Linked DNA regions of Homo sapiens: regions 2 and 3 are each linked to region 1. The links are contacts of gene promoters, found by promoter capture Hi-C in human tissues and cell types (Jung and others, 2019). All regions are on one chromosome and are shown on one strand. Each heading gives the region's core, a stretch centred on a gene start or on the middle of the fragment in contact. The rest is flanking DNA. Distances are from core to core; before and after follow the strand shown.

What was found. The method cuts DNA at HindIII sites, captures the fragments that hold promoters and counts their contacts. A contact is called where the count stands out against the background at its distance.
Region 2: a contact is called between a fragment that was not itself captured here and the fragment with the promoter of CTBP2 in region 1, in 1 of the 25 tissues and cell types used here (adrenal gland).
Region 3: a fragment that was not itself captured here is called in contact with the fragment with the promoter of CTBP2 in region 1 in 1 of the 25 tissues and cell types used here (hippocampus).

The regions. Positions count from the first base shown.
Region 1 is chr10:125,158,437-125,163,145 of GRCh38, forward strand. CTBP2 (C-terminal binding protein 2) reads right to left here and starts at 2,127. Exons shown (of 11, transcript NM_001329.4): 1 at 1,883-2,127. RefSeq lists an enhancer at 2,898-3,507. The HindIII fragment of the contact is 19,174 bases long and covers 1-4,709 here.
Region 2 is chr10:124,528,973-124,533,681 of GRCh38, forward strand. All of the region lies in intron 6 of LHPP (phospholysine phosphohistidine inorganic pyrophosphate phosphatase), which reads left to right. Among named protein-coding and RNA genes, the nearest start is that of LHPP, 70 kb to the left of the region's middle. RefSeq lists a silencer at 1,125-1,244 and enhancers at 4,121-4,654, 4,655-4,709. The HindIII fragment of the contact is 8,411 bases long and covers 1-4,709 here.
Region 3 is chr10:125,723,858-125,728,566 of GRCh38, forward strand. EDRF1 (erythroid differentiation regulatory factor 1) reads left to right here. Exons shown (of 25, transcript NM_001202438.2): 4 at 1-79; 5 at 1,461-1,585; 6 at 1,825-1,981. Among named protein-coding and RNA genes, the nearest start is that of EDRF1, 6.5 kb to the left of the region's middle. The HindIII fragment of the contact is 3,858 bases long and covers 939-4,709 here.

The sequences.
Region 1 (4,709 bases), core at 877-3,376:
ATAAAAATATACCAGTCTCTAGAATATCCAACAGAATTGCAAATAAGGCGTTTAGCATTTTAAATTCCCAATGCATATTTATAGAATAGAATTCTCTTGTCTATCCTTCCAGCCACTCGCATCAGACTCTCTAAGAACTTAACCCGATCTCCAATCTTTAAAGAAAAAAGGGGGTAAATACACAGAAGGATTGTTTACCCCGGACAGGGCAAGGAAGCCCGGTATGACGACGTAGGCCATTGCCAGCAGCCTCCACCACGAGCACGCAGAGCGGGGATTTCTACGAAAAATTCCTCCTCTTCCCTATAAAATCCTAAACGTGGGGTCCTCTGCAGCCAACTGCCGCTTGGGCCGCCTCCGGAAAAAGTACCGGGCGGGGGGAGGGGGGACAACCACAAACACTCGCGCGCACACGCTCACTCCGTGTCCGCGACCGTCGTCGCCGGCGGAAAGCGAGCCACGGGAGGGAGTGTGTGCGCGCGTGTGTGTCTCGGCGCGGCCCGCGGTGACCGAGCTGAGCTCTTGGGCCCGCGGCCTCCGAGCCCCAGGGCGCGGCGTGGGCTGCAGGCGACCCGCCACGCCGCTGGGCCTCCCGCGGGAGAAAGGCCCAGGCACGCCCCGGCTCCCGCGCGCCTCTGCCCAACTCGCCCGGGGCGCTGGGGGCAGCGCGAGGGAGAGAAAGAAAGGCGCTTCCCCTCGGCCGCGCGGGGCCGTCCGGCGCCGCGGAGGGCTGGGAGGAGGAGGAACCGCGGCGGCCCGGCTGTCCCTGCGCCGCACCGGGTCCCTGCCGCCCGGGGCGCGCCCTAGCCAGCCCCTCCTGCTAAACTTTTTCTTTTTGATTCGCCCCACCCGAAAAGTGCGGCCCGGGCGGGGAAGGTGGGGGAGGCGGGCGGGCCGGGCTCCCGGCGGCGGCGGGCGAGGAGGAAGTGGTGCCCGCGGGAGCGCGGCCGGGCAGAGGAAATGCCCGGCCCGCCCGGCCCCCGCCCGCGCCCGCCGCCCGGCCCGCCCAGGCCCCCCGCCCCGCCGCGACTTTGGCGGGCCGAGCCCCGCGCGGCAGTGGCGGCGGCGGCAGCGGCAGCAGATGTGGCCCGGCTGCCCGGAGGAGCCAACAATGCGGGGCCGGCAAAACAAAAGGGTTCCACTTCGCCTCCTTTCCCGTCTTTCACTTGCGCTCCCGGGGAGCCGCGCGGGATCCCCCGCCGGCAGGGGCAGCGCCCCTGGGGACCGAGAGCCGCTCACGCCCCGACTTCCCCACGGAACCCCTCTTCTCCGCGCCCCCCCCACCCTCGCCTCGTAGGCGCAAGGCCCGCCGCACCCCGGCGCGCTCGGACTCCTGTTCCCCGGAGATCCGGCCGTATTGTCCCCGCGGCGCGTCGCGCGCTCGGCCTGGGTCGCCGGCGGCCCCCGGGCGCGCACCCACCGGGCTCAGGGAGCAGGAGCCGGGGGCGCCCAGGGAACCGTCGCCGAGACGCCGCCGCCGCCGCCGCCGCTGCCCTCCGGACGCCGCCGCGCTCGGGGTTTCTTTTTTTTTTTTTTTCAACCCTGATGGGAAGGAAGGTGACCGCCTACTTCGCATTCATCAACTCTCATCACAACAACAAAAATCCTGGCGCAAACGGCGGCCAGCGGGCGCAATCGGTGGCGGGGGCGGGCGGGGACCCCCGAGCCAGCGTCCACCCCCGGGCGCCGAGGGGGGACACGAGGCCGGGGGCACGGACCAAAGATGTCCTCGGATGCCGGCTCCGCGTCCTTCGCCCTCTTCCTCCTCCTCCTCCTCCTCCCTGAGTGGCGCAGTGAGGCGCGGGCGCGGCGCCCCCAGCCCGCGGCCGCAGGTGAGGCGGGGGCGGCGGCGGCCCCAGCCCTCCCCCGGGGCCCCCCTTACCTCGTCCCGGACGGTCGGCGTCCACGGCGAAAGGCGCCCACCCTGGAGGCGGCGGCGGCGGCGTCTCCCGCCCCTCCCACCCCACCCGGCGGCGGTGGCGGTGGCGGCGGCTGTGCGGCCCCCCCTCAGCGCGGCATGGCTCCCGGTTCGGTCCCTCGCTCCTCGGGCCGCCGCCGGCTCCTCCGGGCCGCTCCCGAGCCACCTTAAAATGACACACGCACACAGGGACACACACACAAAAACTTAATCTCTCCAGCTCCCCGCCCCTCCCCCTCCCGCCCTCCCCACCCTCCCTCCGCTCCCCTCCCCTCCCCACCCTACCCCTCCCTTCCCTTCCACCTCCTCCCCTCGCCGCCGAGCCTCTTCCTACTTCCCCACCCACCCCACCCCCTTCCTCCGCCCACCCGGTTCCCAATTCCCCCCGCGTCCCGGCCCCGCGCCCTCCCGCCCGCCGAGAGGGGGCTGCGCTGGGGGTCCCCGGCCCGGGCCCGCCCCGCGCCGCGCTCACCCCCGAGAGGATGCTAATTCCAACTTGGATCGGGGGAGGGAACGTCCTGGATGCCGAGCGCCTCCCGGCTATTTGCTCTTCTTTATTTGTTTTCTCCTCCGGGGAAGGAGAAGGAAAACGGAGAGAAAAGGAAAGGAAAGAAGCGGCGCTGGCCGCAGCTCCCGGTACCCGCTGGCTGCGCAGGAGCTAGGCGGGAGGCGAGGTGAGGGTCGCCGCTCGCTCACTCCTCGCTCCTGTTTTTGGGGGGGGGGGGCAAAGGCGGGGTCTCTTTTTGCAAACCAATGACACAACCCCACATGGGCCGGCCTCGCCCCCTTCAGATACTCCTCACTACAAATCGGCTCTCTCGGGGGATTAGTGGCTCCGCGAAAGTGCACACAAGCGCGGCGGGCGGGAGGGCCAGGGGCCGGGCGCGGCGGGCACTCCCTAGCCCGGCCCCGCCCGGGAGGCCCTCGGGAGGCGCGGGGGCCTCGGTGGCAGGGGCCGAGGTCCTGTCGCGGTGGCTCGGGGTCCGCTGCTCCCCTGGCCCTTCATCCTCCTCCGCCCCTTCCACGTGGGGTACCGGGCAGCCGGCCACGTGGGGGAACGCGAGCCCCGGGTGGCCCCGGTCCCATGGGGCCCCGCCCAGCCAGCGGCGCCAACCAGCCCCCTTCCCGGCCCCCGGGCTCCAACTTCCTCCTGGTGCCCCGCACCGGCCGCTTCTGCCTTCTCAGGCCCGCGGGGTCAGGCGCGGGCCGGCCACAGGGGGCACTTGCGCTCCCCAAATCCAGATCCGGGAGACCGTGCCGGAGAGGCGGCGACCGCTGTGGGTGCGCAGGGAAGGGCCCTCTGTGCTGCAAGTTGCAGCAGTGCTGTGCCCTAAAAGAAGCAAAACATTCTTACACATTGAAAAAAAAAAAAAAGGTTCCCTCTTGCTGCCTGGATCTCGCCGGGGCATTTGAGAAGCCCTGTGTTGGGTCGGAGCCCCGGGTCTCGAGGAGGGAGGCGCGCTGCGGCGTGGGGGCCCGCGACTCGGGGTCCTGGGCTTGCGCGGCGGCCCGGAGCCCACGCCGTCCTGACGTCTCAAGGTTGGAGTCTGCACAGCGAGCCTGGGAATCCAGGCCCAGCGGCCGCTCGCGGCCCAACGAGCACCTGGGCTAAATTCCCCGCCCGTGACCCGCGACGTCCGAGCGCCGTCTCCGGAAGGGAGCTGGTGGCCGTGGAGTGTGGGGTCTTCTCCCTGCGCCCCAGGGCCCCCCAAACTCTTCTCACTACCCTGAGTTCGGCGTGCGTCCTCCAAGAATCCCTGGGTGGGCTGAACTGAGCCCTTAGGATCGATTTGTTTAAAAACCCTATTGAGATATTAGGAGCTGGATTGAGATGTCGAGCAGGAAAGGAGTGGGAGGGGTCTGAGGTCCCGCCTTTGGAGGCCGCAGGGACCGCCATTCCGCGAACCCAGCCGCGCGGTGTGGTCTCCTCCATCCCTGAGTGCCCCGCGCCCTGCAGAGCCGAGGAAACTTACAGCCAGGGCCAGGGGGCCGGAGGAGAGGCCACCGAGCTGCACGACCCTTTTCTGCATCCCAAAGAGCGTTGCTCCAGGCCTCCCAGTCTTCATTAAACATTTCTTAAATCCTGCCCCAGCCCGCCGCGGGGCTTGTTTGCCAAAGCGCACCAGGTGCGTTGCGGCCTGAGCGGCCTGCAGTGGAGGGGCCGGGACTATCGAAGATTGCTTAATCACTCAACAAGATTTTAAAACGTGATTGAAGACCGCCTACCTGTGAGGGCAGCGCCGACCAGGCTTTTCTTGCCCGCTAGTCCACGTAATGCGGTCGCTAAGAAGCCCGCAGCAGGGTTTTCGCGTGACCTTCATAGGGCCTGGCCAGGCCAGCTGAGGGGCGCGCCGGGCTGCGCTTCCATCGAGGAACCTCCGCACATGCAATCACGGTTGTCTCGTCTTCTGGCAACCCTGGATCTCCACAAACTGATCTTCAGGGTGCTTCTCTCTTCAGCAGTTTTGCCTCAAGGGCATGGCGCCTCAGCTAGTTTTTGGCTGTAAACAAACCGCGGCCACCGCCAGGCTACCGGGTTACCAGTACCTGTTCTTCGGAGTTTCTTAGGCATAAACTATAAGAACTACAAATAAAGATTTTCTGCTTCCTTATTTCACAGAAGTCTTTGGTTCTGAGTGGTCTTCTTTTCTCAGGAAGAAACCACAAAAAGCCTGATTTTCCATATCACTCCTTCACTTTCACGTGTTCTATAAATTTGAATTCTGACTTAGAAAGTATTACTAACATGTTCTTGGCCGGGCACGGTGGCTCACGCCTGTTATCCCAGCAC
Region 2 (4,709 bases), core at 805-3,304, 630 kb before region 1:
TTATTTTTTATGGCACAATCGCCCCTGCCCTGGGTTTGTGAATTTGGGGGATTCTTTTTTTTTTTTTTTTTTTTTTTGAGACAGAGTCTTGCTCTGTCGCCCAGGCTGGAGTGCAGTGGTGTGATCTCGGCTCACTGTAAGCTCCGCCTCCCGGGTTCATGCCATTCTCCTGCCTCAGCCTCCTGAATAGCTGGGACTACAGGCACCCACCACTACCATGCCCAGCTAATTTTTTTGTATTTTTAGTAGAGACGGGGTTTCACTGTGTTAGCCAGGATGGTCTCAATCTCCTGACCTCGTGATCTGCCCACCTCGGCCTCCCAAAGTGCTGGGATTACAGGTGTTGGGGGATTCTTAAGGAAAACCACCTGAAAGTGCGGGGTTATTAAAAACAGAAACCAACCCATGCACCCACCACTCACGAGCAGCCCACACAGCTCCCACCTGACCAGGGCTCCCCCTTCTCATGGGTGAGTGAAAGTTGCTGAAAATAGGCCTCCTGGTGAGGAACCTCCCAGCCAGCCCTGTCAGTGGCACTGAGGCTGCTCTCCGACTGTGGCATCCCCCATGTCTGTCCTCATTACTGAGCAAAAATTTGTGCAGAGGAGTGCTCTACACTTTCCAAGGGTTTAATCCAGGAGCTGAGGGCCAGGGGCTCCATGACTGTAGACTCAACATCCTGGGCCACAGCCATCCGTGAGGGGGAGGACGAGGGGCCACGCCCTGCACTCTGTCCCAGCATCCCCTCTCCCTGGAGCCATGCAGAGATGGCCTCATTTCATCCCACACTCACATGCGGGTCCTAGACACCAGCTCATGCACATACACACACACACACACGCACACACACACACACACACATGCGCACATGCACCCACGCACTCTCTTTGCCTGTGGGAGGGCAGGATCCCAGCTGCCCCAGCGGGGAAGGGGTGTGGGGAATCAGCCCTGCAGATGCGGTGTGAGGGGCAGACATGGCATGCTGGTCTTTGGCAGTGTGGTCCCAAGTGGGGGCGGCTGGAGAGGTGCCTTGCCACAGGGCCCAGGCCACCCGCATGCATCCCATGAGGCCGTCCAAGCCCGTCTGCCCTGCATCAGAGAGGACACCCCAATGCGGGGAGGGAGGAACCTGGTGAAGCCAGGAGCGGTGGGCAGGGGCCAGCAAGGATCCCCAGGCCCCCAGGGCAGTGTGCATCCGGCCTTCTTGCATGCCCACCTGGCATCCTGCCTGCCGCCTCCTGCCTCCCGCCCCACCCCTCCTGCGTCCCAGCCTGGTGGACCTCTCAGGGTTCACTCTCATTTCCTCCTCCCCACGCCACCTGCTCGGGCCACAAGAGGGCGCCTTGCTGCCAGGGATGGGACAGGCCGGGCCTGCTGGAGCCAGGGCCGATGCACGCACAGCTACATACACTCACCCGGGCCCACGTGTGCTCACGAGGGGCCCCCATACCCACACGATCCCGCATCCACATGTGCGCACGCCAGGCCCCACAGGTTCTCAGGCCCAGGCCACACATCCACAGGTGCCCACTCTCATGCTGGCCTCATAGTGCATGCACACACACACACACACACACATATACATACACTCACGCCCAGACCCCCCCACGCCCCAGGCCACACATGTGGGCCTGCTCACACCCCACTCATTCCCTCCCAGATGCCGCACCACCCCCATGCCCTGTGTGCCCTCTGCCTCTCGGGGCCCTGGGGCCCCAGCTCCAAGAACCACGGGCTTGCTTTAGCCAGGCTTCCACAAGCCTGCCCATTCCTCAGGACACTGACCCTCTCCTCTGCCACCCTTCACGGGTGCAGACGATGAGCATGGAGAACACCACAGCGCACAGGGCCGAGGGCCACCATCAGAGTCTCCTGCAGCCCTGGATTCCCTGGGCCTGAAGCAGGCAGAGCGGCCAAGGTAGCCTCATCAGCCTCACCAGCCCGTCCTTCTTGTCTCCCTGGCACCTTGTCAGAGAGAGGCCTAAGAACACGCTCTGGGCATTGGGGGCCTCCCAGTGTTCCCTGCGAGTTTGGAGAGGCCAGGTCCCTGGGATGAGGACACGCCCACCCGCCAAGCTCCCCTCCTGCCAGTCCCACCTGGAGCCTTTATGCATGCTGTCTGCGCCCTTCACCTGTCCCACCACCTCTTCTTTGGCCTGCCTGGATCCTGCCATATCCTCAAGGCCTTCCCTGGTGATGGAATTCCAGAGTCCTCCCAATTGCAAGGGCCTGAGGGATCCGCTGCCCTCCAACCCCACACCCCGTCTCAAGGTCATGTGCTAATCCCGTGCAAGCTGGGGTGTGGGCTGGCTGCCATGTCAAGCTCGTTTCTGTTGTACCCAAAACACAGTCTCACCTCCAGAAGAATTACCTGGCACTCCCTGGAGTTCCCGCAGCCTTCTCATTTTCAAATAATTTTTCAGATTTCCAGAATAGAAAGAAATTCCATACACCCTTCTCCCAGAGACAGACCCCATTCAAGCTTTGCCAATCATTCCATGAACTCCTCTAGAGAGGGGAAGACCCAGTCCGGGGCCAGGCAGCTCTCTCTGGTCTCTCTGGACTCCGTCCTGGAGCACTTCCCTGTCCTCGCCTCAGTTCTCACAGATTGCCAGTTTTGAAGATTACGAGACAGTCATTTTGTGTGGTGTTTTCTCATGATACAACCCAAGTTACGCGTTTGGGGCTAGCATTGCTTAGAAGTGGTGCTGTGCTTGTTCTCATAGGCATGTAATGTTGGTTTGCCCAAATATTGCTGATGTTAACCTTGACCTCTTGTTTAATGGCAACCACATAATGTGTTTTTCCCCTTTGTGATTGATACGTATTTGTGGGGAGATGCTTTGAGGTGATGCGATGTCCCACTTTCATCTGCCAGTTTTAGTGTCCCTTAGTATTTCTTGTTTGAATGAATGATTTCTATGATGGTCGCCAAATAACTCCATCATTCTTCCTTGTATTTACTCCTGGTGTTTTACTTTAAGGAAAGATGTTCTCTTCTTTCCACTGATTGATGTATGCCAGTGTGGGCTCGTGGCTTCCTATGTAATTCAGTGGGTTATCGTCTGTTAACCGTCATCACTGGGATATTCAGATGGTCCCCGACGCAGGCACTGGCAGCCCCTTCAGGCTGGCCCTGTGACCTTTCGGCACATCCTCACCGTTCTTTGAGCCCTTCCTTGCATTTTGGCCCAAAAAGATGTTTCAGGTTCATTTGTTCAGTCTTTGCTTCAGCCCTGGAATCGGCCATTTCTCCAAGGAGCCCCAGTTCCTTCCAGTGGAGGGCACTGTTTAGAATCTCAGCCCAGGGCCCCAGGTGTGCTTGTGTTGTCTCTGGGCATTGCTGCTCAGGCCCTGGCGGTGGACAGAGGTAGGAAAGATGCGCATGGTATGCAGGTGTGACACACACATGCGTCCATGCTTACCCTACCCACCTGGACCTGCCCAAAAGCCCGAGCTCACAGCAGTGCCTCCGATTCCAGTCCAGCAGCACAGGGTTCCTTCTCACCTCATGCCTTTACACGTTCATGCCTTCCTTCCACAGCAGGGAGAAGCCTGGCTTCCTCATTCTCTCTCCATCTGCTTATCGCTCTATCCCATGTAGAGCCAAGTCCCTGACCTTGCCTGTGGTGGACACTCTGCGTTTGTTAAACTGAATAACAACAATCCTCCCTATTGGGAGAAACCTTTTCAGCTTCCCAGGCCATTTCTGCATTTGTGGTTCTCTTCCAAGCCTCTTGGGTAGGCATAGAAAGTCTTCTCTGTTTTCCAGGGAAGCTGCAGACTCACCCAGCATCACCCAGCTGGTAAGGGTGTAGCAGGACAGTGCCAGCATGTCTGTCCCAACTGTCCCTATGGCCCCTATGGAAGATTAGCTATGTGGTGGCAAAGTGTCCCGAGGAAGGGGCATTCTGGGATGTTCAGGTGCTCGACTGGGCTGGGACTTGTACTTTGGAAATGAGAAGAAGCCCAGGCTCAAATCTTTGCCCCACTGCTTGCTGGCAGGAAGACCACTGAGCCTCAGTTTTCTCATCTGTAAAATGGACTTATTTTGGACTTACTTCCCAGGTATCCTCAGCACCTTTATTACAGGAGCTCCATTAATACATGGCTGCAGGAGGTAGTTCAGGGAAGCAATGGGAGTGGAATGCTGGGTGCATCACGGCCTGGGGTTGTCAGCCTGGCCTCTGCAGGCATCTGAGATATTCCTGAGGGCAGATTCAGCCAGGCCAACACTTCTGGATAGAACCACAGGGCCATAAACTGAGACCATTGAGGGAGACTGCTTGGCTTGGAAAACTCGCCCAGGGACCATGTGCTCTGATTTGCAAAATGCACCCCCCAGAGCGGCTTCCTGCCTTCACTTTGTGCAGAGTTGGGGGCGGCAGGGGCGTGGGGGGTTGGATGGACCATGTCACCCAAAAGTTTGTGTCCTCGGATGGGGAGGGGAGAGCGTCTGCCCAAGCACAGCCTGGAGGCTTCCCTTACTTCCGATGACCTTGTGGCAGTCAGTGTCACCCGGACAGAGTGTGGCACGCCTTGGGGACCAGCCCCTCCCAGAAGGATAGGCGCTTGATTGGAAACGTTGACTTTTCATTTAAATAAGTAAAGGTCAAGGCCTACTGCATGGCGAGGAGGAGATGGCTCTTCCCTGCCTCTGTCCTCCCTTACCCCCGTGTGAGTGGACAAACCCCCCGTCCTCACCCAGG
Region 3 (4,709 bases), core at 1,618-4,117, 570 kb after region 1:
CATGGCAGTACACCGCATAGGAAGGACTCTCTTACTAGATGAGCTAGATATTCAAGAACTCTTTATGAGATCGTCTCAGGTAATGCTTTTGTGAAAAAATCCAACAAAACATTAACAGCTTAAGAGCACTAGAAATACGATTTTGTTTCAGAGAATGGCCAAAGTGGAAATGTAGTTGAGTACTTCAACAATCGAGAAATTGAAAGTTTCACTGAAGATAGAAAAGCTTGAATGAAGAAAAAAGAAGAGAATGAGAATGGTGAAGAAAATTATTTTATTGATTCCAACAGCCAGATTCTTTTTTACAAGAAAAAAGATGAAGCCAATGAAGAAAGTTGTGAAAAAAACTGTGAAATTTAAGGGACTAGTTTAATATTTTTAAGAATCCTTTAACGTCTCCCTTAAACAGATTCTCAGGAAACACAGCTACTGGAAAATGTGAAAAATATTAGAAGCTGTTCCTATGAATAAATACAGTCATGTTCCCATAATGACGTTTCAGTCAGCGATGGACTGCATATACCGGTGGTCCCATAAGATTATAATATACTGTATTTTTACTGTATTTGCAGTGTTCAGATACACAAATACTTCAGTCACATGTACAGATTTGTAGCCTGGGAGCAATAGGCTATACCGTATGACCTAGGTAGGGAGTAGGCTGTACCATCCAGGTTTCTATAAGTAACACTCTGCGATGTTCACACCAGGACAAAATCACCTAATGACGCGCTTCTCAGAATATATCCCCATTGTTAAATGACACATGGCTGTAGTTATTAGAATTAATTGATGCTCTTTAGCCTAGATTCTCAAATTGTATGTTGGTAAGGACTGTTTTTCCCACATGTTGAGAATGGATACTTTTGAAAAACATAATAACATTGTTGCAGTTTCTCAAGAACTACCCTCCATATCTGTACTTTTCTTGGGCTGGCAAGAAATAGTTCATGGTCAGTCTTTAAAGAATATTACTACAGTGCTTTGATAAAGAAAATTAAATTATGGTGAGGTAAATGACATTTAAAATAAGTGCTTTTTTCCTTTGAAAAGACCACCGTTTAGTTCATCATGTGAGTATGAGCCTAGGCACGGGGATGTGACAGTGAACAAATCACAGGCCTTGCTCCTCAGCAGTTCATTGTTTGGGGTTATAAACACATACACAGATCATTTCAATATAGTGTGCAAAGTGGGAACTACTGCAGCTGCTAAGGAACATGTTATAGAGAAGACTCACCTCTCCCAGCCTGGCTTAGGAGGAGGAAGACGGGTTTCCTTTAGGAAACAAAAAACAAAAGAAAGGTGGTATGAATTGACCCAGAAAGATATGTTTTTAATGAGTATGTGTTTATGAAACTATTCAAAAAATAATAGGAGCCTTTTCTGTAAGCTAGTACTAGGTAACATTGTTTCGACTATGTGTGTTGTATTAATAATATGTATCTCATGTTATCCAGACTGGTGACTGGACATGGTTGAAAGAGTTTTATCAAAGACTCATTGATCAGAAGTGGCAGAGGAAGAAAAAGAGCAAAGAGCACTGGTATCAAAAGGCAATTCTTTCCAAGTTTTTATATTACAGGTACTTGGCTACTTATTTATCTCTAAAGAGAAAAAGGGAATTCTGATCTAAAATTTAGTGTGAAGCTTAATGAAGTTATAATTTAAGTTTTGCCCCTGTGATACTGTTAACATTTGTTTCATATTTCTTTTTTACAAGATGTATGCTTAATTACAGATTGTAGTTTTTATAAACGGGTAGACTGTTGCATGAAGTTAACTTTAGTAACAGCAATCCTTTTTTATTTCTGGTTTGGCCAGTATCAATGGTGATGGAGCCGCTCAGCCTGTCTCATCCACCGCAGAACAGCAGGAATCGTCCAGTTCAGATCAGACAAATGATTCGGAAGGGGCTTCATGGCCTGCTCCCTTCGAAATGCCTTCTTCAGTTTCTGAAGATCCCAGTGCTTCCAGTCAGGTTAGTACTTAAATGCTAATTCTAGAAACTCACATAGGAAAACAAAGCCTTTTTTAACATCTCGTTAAAAAAAAAAAAAGATGAACAGGACTAAGAAATATTCTGTCAGCTTATGGAATGGGGGAAAAAAGACTTCTGTCAATTTATGGAATTGGAGAAATACTTTTTAGTTTTTCGCAATAGAATTTACAAGAGCTATTATAGGTGGGGAGATCAGATTTTTTTATTAAATCGAAATATAATAGTTGACTGATATGTTTATTAATACTGATTATCTCCTTCAAGTGATGAGTATTATATAGAGATATAGTATATTTTAATTATAAATACTAGTCATTTTTAACTATAAATACTATTTTAACTATAAATATCTGTCAATATTTGATAGACATTTCCTACCAAATATTGAGACTCAGAGACCCATTTGTAATTTAAGTTCTAACCTTTTTACCATAACTTTCAGTCAGATTGTTAGACCTAAAATATCCCTTTAAGGTTTTCCAGATAAAATTCCTGAAACTTAGTCCACATTCATGTTATAAAAGTTTTAGAAAAGAGAATGAACTAGGTTGTCCATTTTATCTCTTACATCCTTGTTTCTTCCTAATGCTTGTTTATTTTTGTACTTACTGTATCTATCAAAGAATAAAATAAAGCCATAGATGTAAATTGTGACATGTCTATTTTCAGGAAAATAGATTGATAAATAGATAATAAGATCTGTGACTTGATAAGTTACGTCTTCCCTCTTGCTGTTGTGTTCCCACATATTGAGCACTATTCAACCAGATTGTTTCAATCTTCACAAATTACAGGGAGCAGATACATTTAACTCGATTTTAGTTTCAGTAGGTTTAAGATAGAGAAAGCATCCCATAAAACTCCATAATGAATTTAAATTTCTTTCAAAAGTGAGAAAAATGTAAGGAAAAGGAAGTAATTAATATGCAAGTCACATAGTGGTAACAACCAAGAAGTAGGGATGTTCTATGATTCAGAAGGGAGAAAAGACTACATAATACAAATACTACCCTCCTATTACCCATGTCACCCATCTCCCAGTGTTGTTCTGTCTTTACCTTGTTTAGGAATTACTGTGAAAACTCTTGGAGAGTCGGGAATCTGTAGACTTGCGTGTTGAGGAAGCAAGCTGGCATTTACTGAATAGCTCTTATGCCATGTGTATGTTTGTACAAGGTTTTTTTTTTCATTCTTGGAGCTGCGTATTGTACAAATAAGTAAACTAACGCTCATCAAAAGATGTTTCACATGGTCATACAGCTGGCGAAACTCTCAGGCTAGGGCTTAAACCCAGATCTTTCTGCCTGCAGAGGCCTGTTCCTCCAGCAGTACTCCACTGTGTCCGTGTACTCCACACACAGCAAGGCCCTACTAACAGTCAGATCATCGTAGTAGTGGTGTATCCCTAGGCACAGCTAGCCTGCCTTAAGAGTCTCTTACAGAGTACTTTTCTTATATTGCTTAAATTTCAGCTTTAGAGATTTGTTTATATTTGCAAGCTATCTCTGCACAAATTCTTGTTCCAAAAACTAAAACTGCTGGCTTGAGGCCTTTGTTAAGCAGTTATAGAGGTTAAATAGGTGACTGTGGGATGGTCCTAGAGCCAGACATTTATTGAGAACGTTGTAACCTAGAGCTCATACTCTGACTAAAGCAACTGCCTGGCAAACTGTTTTGAGAATCGGTTCATGAGTTGATAACTTGTCTGTGTAAACAAATAATAAAATAAAAAAGAGTTTAAAGTTCTCTTAGGACTCCTGAGGGAGAGGACAAGGCACAATAGAAGTGCTAGAGAGCCACCTGTGCTTATAGTCACACACTCTTCCCAAGCAGGTGCCAAGCCTACTGGCACACACAGATGACAAGTAAGACAGATGTTTGTGGAATAAGCAACACACGCATGCCTGTCTTGGGTTCTGTTGAGGCAATGACATTAAAAGCTTAAAGTAGTATTTCTTAATGGCAGTACTACTTTCCTAATGATTGGAAAATTGAGTGGTAGGCTGAGTTTACCCAGTGTCAAGAGGGCCCAAGTGTATTCCAAAATGCATTCCAGGCTGGGCGCAGTGGCTTATGCCTGTAATCCCAGCACTTTGGGAGGCCGAGGTGGGTGGATCACTTGAGGCCCGGAGTTAGAGACCAGCCTGGCCAACATGGCGAAACCCCATCTCTATTTAAAAAAAGAAAAAAAAATTAGCCGGGCATGGTGGCACGTGCCTGTAATCCCAGCTACTCGGGAGGCTGAGGTAGGAGAATTGCTTGAACCCAGGAGGCGGAGGTTGCAGTGAGCTGAGATCATGTCACTGCACTCTGGCCTGGGCAACTCTGTCTCAAAAAAAAAAAAAAAAGTATTCCAGAGAATATCTTAAGAACAAAAAGTGTTCTGAGATTAAATACATTTGGGAAACATTGGTTTTTACAAAGATAAAGTAGATTTTTCTATTGCAGGATTACTTATTATATATTTATTGTTTTAATATCAATAAATATTGTTACTCCACAAAAGTGAGTACCTGGTAAACGTCATCTTTCAAACCTGACTCTGGAAAATTTTCATTCAGTTTCCCAGGAACTAGTGTTCTGTGAAACACTCATCAGGAAATGCTAAACTGGAGACTGTTAAGATAATGAGTATCTCAAACTGTGGCTGAGTAAGATTTCTTAGGGTTTCTTTTTTTTAAGAGACAGACTCTCATTATGTTGTCCA